2 separate regions of the Homo sapiens genome follow, and region 2 is linked to region 1. The links are contacts of gene promoters, found by promoter capture Hi-C in human tissues and cell types (Jung and others, 2019). All regions are on one chromosome and are shown on one strand. The core of a region is centred on a gene start or on the middle of the fragment in contact, and the rest is flanking DNA. Distances in the headings are between cores, read along the strand shown. Region 1 holds the start of RYBP (RING1 and YY1 binding protein). Region 2 overlaps FOXP1 (forkhead box P1).

Region 1 (2,700 bases), core at 33-2,532:
AACAATAATTAGGCCAATTAATCTCAGAGTTAGATTATTTTAGGTTGCCCAATAATCCTATTTAATCCCAAGTATAAATAAACCAATGAAACCTTAACATGACATATTCATCTAATCAAAGAACAATATCCAGTTGGAACTGTGAAGTACTACTACACAGTCACACTGAAATGTCACCAATTCAAAAATAAGTACCTGATAAAATGAGACTTTTGGCAATCAACTGTAATGTTCTAAAGGATCCACCAAAAACTCATTCTTGTCTCACACACACACCCAATGCCTGTTCATTAAATGACACCAAGAACAGTTTAACTTCAAACTCTAACGCCAATGAAACAAATTCAGACATAAATTAAAAGATGACCAAAAGACTACATGAGTCTTGACATTTTATCCAAGTATTTATGAATGTTAAATCTAAAGTAGTTAACTCGTTTTAACATCACATGCAGTTTACGACCTTCATCAAAATGAAAAGGAATTCTTTCAACATTCTTTTCATCATCACAGAGCTTTAAACACAAACTTCCACAGTCACTGCTCATTTCACCATTTTACAAAATCGTCCCCCATCACCACCCCACATAAGCTAGTCAAAGAAAAAAAAAACTGACAGCTCAGTCTCCCACAAAATGCACTTACTTTATCAAATACCGACATTTATTTTCAAGTGCAAGAAAGTAACAGACATTTGCAGCTCAAGACAGGAAAAGCACAGCCAGCCTTACTACCCCCACTAAATTTCTCAGACAAGAGAAAAGTAACTCGGGACAGGCAAATTAAAACCATTCTACACATGGCAAAAATATAAAACATCTATGTCCTACAATCCATAGCGATAGTACTGCTTCCTCTCTTCCCCAGCCAATACCAATAAGCCAATAGACACAAGTGTCAAATAAATCCAGTGTCCGTTTGAAATAAAATGAAAACCTGGAAAAATTCCCTCCCATAAATCATTTAGCGAACACAAGGCTTTTCACCCAACACTTAATACACTCAACCCAAAAACACACACAACCCACCCGCAAATACAAAAAAAGCCGTAATCAACAAGTTGGAAAAAGGGCAGAAAGTAAGGCTCACTACCCTCTCACTTAAAAAAAAAAAAAAAAAGTCCTTTAACAAAAGGTAACACAGATCTTCAAGTACCTGGTGGAGGTGCCTTTCCTCACATCGCAGATGCTGCATTTAAAGGCTTCAGCACTGTTTCTGAAGGTGCAGACGCTACAATCCCAAAACCCTTCGTCTGCGGCAGGTTTCGCTTGTCTTTTTGGCCTTCCGAGGAGTGGAGAGTGGGGGAAAAGGGAGGGAAGAGGCAGGGAGCAGGAAAACGGGGGAGAGACAGCAAAACACAGACGCGGGTGAGCCGTCGTAATTTCGCAGGAATCCAGTGCTGGAAACTTCGCTCGGGAGACCACCCACCCACCCTTTCCGGGGACTGGAAGAGAGAGCGAGGAAGGGAACCGGGCGCCCCCACTGGCACCCTGCAAGCCCCGGGCCCGGGCCGGATAGCCTCGCACACCAGGCGGTGGCGGCGGCGCCCCGGGAAGGGCCGCGGCGGGCGCAGGAAGCGGGCGGACTTGTGGACTTGAGCGTGGGGCTGGGGGGGCCGGGAGGGGAGCCGCGGGCCGGATCTGGAGGGGGCGCGCAGGGGCAGCCCGAGGCCGGCGACGGGGAGTGGGCCGGCTCCTTCCCTCTCCACTCCCAAGCTCGCGCCCTCCCTCCCTCCCCACCTGGTTAAATCCATCACAGTCTCCGGACGAGACTAGTCCCCGCCAGCGCCGCCTCCGCCGAGTGACTGACGAGGGGCGGGGCCTGGCGCCGCGCGTCACGCGCCGTGCGGCCAATGGGAGGGCGGCGGCCGGCGCCGCGAGGGCGGAGGCGGGGCGCGGGGGAAGGCGGGGCGTGGCGGACGTGGGCCGGGCGGTCGGTGTGCGTGCCCGGGAGTGTGTGCGCGCTGGGGGCGCGCGTGCCTGTCGGTGGCCCCGCGGCCCGGCGCGGCGGAGCGTGCAAGCCCGGCGGGGCGCACGTGGCCGCGCCCGGGAGCTGGCAACTGGCTTCGGGCCCCGCACGGCGCCCCGTGAGGCTGTTGCCGGGACCCCGGCCCCGAAGCCGCCCCGGGGAAGTAGTTCCACGCAGTTTGCGCGCGCCGCGGGAGCTTGCAACAGCCTCACCGCTCGCAGCGCCTCGAGGCTTGCAGTGCCCAGGGGCCGACAAGGTCCACCTTTGGACCGCGTTCCCCCGCGCCCCTCTGTTCCTCTGCCATGCGGAGCTTTGTATTTGCCTCTTCTGAAGTCCCTGCGTCCGGCCGAGACGCTGGCCCGAAGCCCCACTCCCTGTCAGGCCCCTGTCGCGGGAGGGAACAGTAGAGAAAGGGCGTGGCATAACTAAATGCCCCCAGGCCAGACTCTGAGCTTCTGCTGGCGGACTCCTCCTGGGATCCTCCTCTCCCCTAGAGTCTAAATAGGGCGTTTCCTTAGGGAAGTTGCTATTCAAATTCTGGCGACCACATGCCCGCATTAAAACCTCGTGCCTCAGCTCCTTCATCTCCAAAATGGGGCTCATCCTCCCAGGGTTGTTTTGAATATTCGGAGAAATCAGGCATGGAAGGTTCGCTGATGGATGCCTGGTATTCACGAAGGACCAAAACAAGATATTGGGTATTAGGAGCTATTATAACTGGGCCTGAATTGT
Region 2 (2,700 bases), core at 87-2,586, 1.4 Mb before region 1:
CAAAGAAAAAGAAAGCCTTCAAAAAGTTCGAACCAAAAAAAGGTTAAATGTTGTGTGCATAAACAAAACAGTATCTAGCCTGCGGGCCATCAGTTTGCAATCTCTAATGGGGAATCAATTCCTTACTTTCTTCAACCTTGCTCCCATCATAAAACAAATCTCTCGATTCCTATTTTCAAGAAATTTCATTTTCTAAGCTTCTTTCACATTTTTCTTGGATATTCCCATGTTTTTCAACTAAACAGTACCTCCCTGTTTGTAACAGAGTTGTCACGATGGCTGTTAGAAAACATTTGCCCCGTTTTTCATAAGTGCAGTATGTAATGTGATAATACAGAAGTGAAAGAACAAGTCTCCTGCAGGTGTGAGGAGAACCACCCTTGGGGGGAAAAAGTAACAGGGCAATGAAGAGTAACAAATTACTCAGTCCCCAGGAGAAGCAAGTCAACTCTAACTAGAAGGCTTGATGAAAAGATAATTTTATAATCCATGCTTCCCTTCCCAACACATCAAGACACAATAAAATGAGCATACTCCCTGATCTTCTTTGCATATATGTAACTATAATGTCAAATAAAAAATAACTGTGCAACTGCCTCCTTAAGAGTGCAGGGAAGAACTAGGAGGGGGTCAGAGTGGGGAAGCATGATCATTGCACTCTGTCTTTTCTTCTCAGCAGTTGCACTGCCATTACAGGAGAGCTAGGGTCCTGCACAGAAGACCTACAGAAGTGAACAATTCACTGTAGAATTTGCAACCCATCTGGCATATATCAAAGATTCAGAGACGATAACATAGGTATATGATAACATAGGTATGGCCATTCTAAATGCACTTCGCTCTGAAATGCATAGGGGGTTGACAACTGCCACTCTCTGCCCATCTACTACCATCAGAAAGCCTCAGTATTATATAAAATTCAATTTTTTGTGTGTCCAGACCACTGTAGGATCTCACAAGTAATAACCCAAACCAACATCATCATAATATAATGATCAGAACAACAGCTATAAGAAGGGCAGGTAACATTTTGAGCTACAGGTGCCAGATTCTGTGTGTGTGTGTGTGTGTGTGTGTGTGTGTGTGTATTCTTAAATTAATCCTCTGAATTAATCTGCTGGGTAGACATTTCTACTTTATAGAAGCTCAAAAGTGAGCTTTAGCCCAGGCACGGTGGCTCACGTCTGTAACCCCAGCACTTTGGGAGGCCAAGGTGGGTGGATCACCTGAGGTCAGGAGTTCGAGACCAGCCTGACCAACATGAAGAAACCCCGTCTCTACTAAAAATACAAATAAAATGAGCTGGGCATGGTGGCACATGCCAGTAATCCCAGCTACTTGGGAGGCTGAGGCAGAAGTGCTTGAACCCGGGAGGCGGAGGTTGTAGTGAGCCGAGATCGCACCACTGCATGCCAGCCTGGGTGACAGAGCAAGACTCCGTCTCAAAACAAAACAAAACAAAACAAAACAAAACAAACAAACAAAAAAAAAACTGAGCTTTACTTGGACAAGGTCCCAGAGATGGTAAATGATGGTTTTTAGAATTTGGGTCTATCTACTCCAAAGAGTTACCAAATTAAGCTTAATTGTCTCATCAATATCTCAAGCTCAAGATTAAGGGTAACCCCAAGCTTTTTCCTAACCAGTTAACATATTCAACCAATGAATGTAATGCTATGACATTATGAGTCTAAAATAAAATATAATTCTCAATTATAGAATTATTAATAAAACAAAGACCAATAAACTTCACAGCTGGGAGAGAGGTATGAGAAACACAACTGTAATCAACATTTGGAAATAAGAAACAAAGTTCAAGGATCTGGCTTTTACAAAAGCCAACAGGAAAATCACGATGTAGGCTGAGTGCCATGACTCACGCCTGTAATTCCAGCACTTTGGGAGGCCGAGGCAGGCAGATCACTTGAGGTCAGGAGTTTGAGACCAGCCTGGCCAACATGGTGAAACCCCGTCTCTACTAAAAATACAAAAATTAGCCGGGCATGGTGGCACACGCCTGTAGTCCCAGCTACTTGGGAGGCTGAGGCAGAAGAATCGCTTGAACCCAGGAGGTGGAGGTTGTAGTGAGCTGAGATCGCACCACTGCACTCCAGCCTGGGCGACAGAGTGAGAGACTCTGTCTCAGAAAAAAAACAAAAAACAAAAAAAAACAAAATTAGCTGGGCATGGTGGTGCACGCCTGTAATCCCAGCTACTCGGGAGGCTGAGGCAGGAGAATCGCTTGAACCTGGTGAGTTAGGGAGGAGGTTGCAGTGAGCAAGATGGCATCACTGCACTCCAGCCTGGGTGACAGAAGGAGGCTCCATCTCAAAAAAAGAAAAAAAAGAAAACCAGGATGTGCCAGTCTGTGTCTCTAAGAGGGAGGGCAAGTACAGAGACCCTTGTGGGACCCTAAAATCAGTATCAGCGGAAACTGAAGGTCACGTTCCTCCCCCTCAGATTGAGGACAGGAGGAGGCTGGTCTGTGGAACCGAAGCAAACCTTAGATGGAAGGAAACTTTCAGAGGAAATGATTTAAGCTTTTTTGGTAAGTAGGGTATTTTTCAAATTCTTTTAGAAGTTCTTATTTCCATCTTAAGCCTGCACAAATAAAAATAATTGTCAGTTTTCAAATGTGAGGGAGGGCGTTTGGCTTATTTTCCTTCAAACTTCCAGGTCTTGGGAGTTTTTCTTATTTTG

The links. The method cuts DNA at HindIII sites, captures the fragments that hold promoters and counts their contacts. A contact is called where the count stands out against the background at its distance.
Region 2: a fragment that was not itself captured here is called in contact with the fragment with the promoter of RYBP in region 1 in 1 of the 25 tissues and cell types used here (spleen).

Annotation. Positions count from the first base shown.
Region 1 is chr3:72,445,341-72,448,040 of GRCh38, forward strand. It overlaps RYBP (RING1 and YY1 binding protein), which reads right to left and starts at 1,283. Exons shown (of 4, transcript NM_012234.7): 1 at 1,156-1,283. The coding sequence starts at 1,283. RefSeq lists silencers at 1,600-1,659, 1,720-2,129. The HindIII fragment of the contact is 22,535 bases long and covers 1-2,700 here.
Region 2 is chr3:71,090,046-71,092,745 of GRCh38, forward strand. The region is part of intron 7 of FOXP1 (forkhead box P1); the gene reads right to left. Among named protein-coding and RNA genes, the nearest start is that of FOXP1-AS1, 200 kb to the right of the region's middle. The HindIII fragment of the contact is 4,370 bases long and covers 1-2,700 here.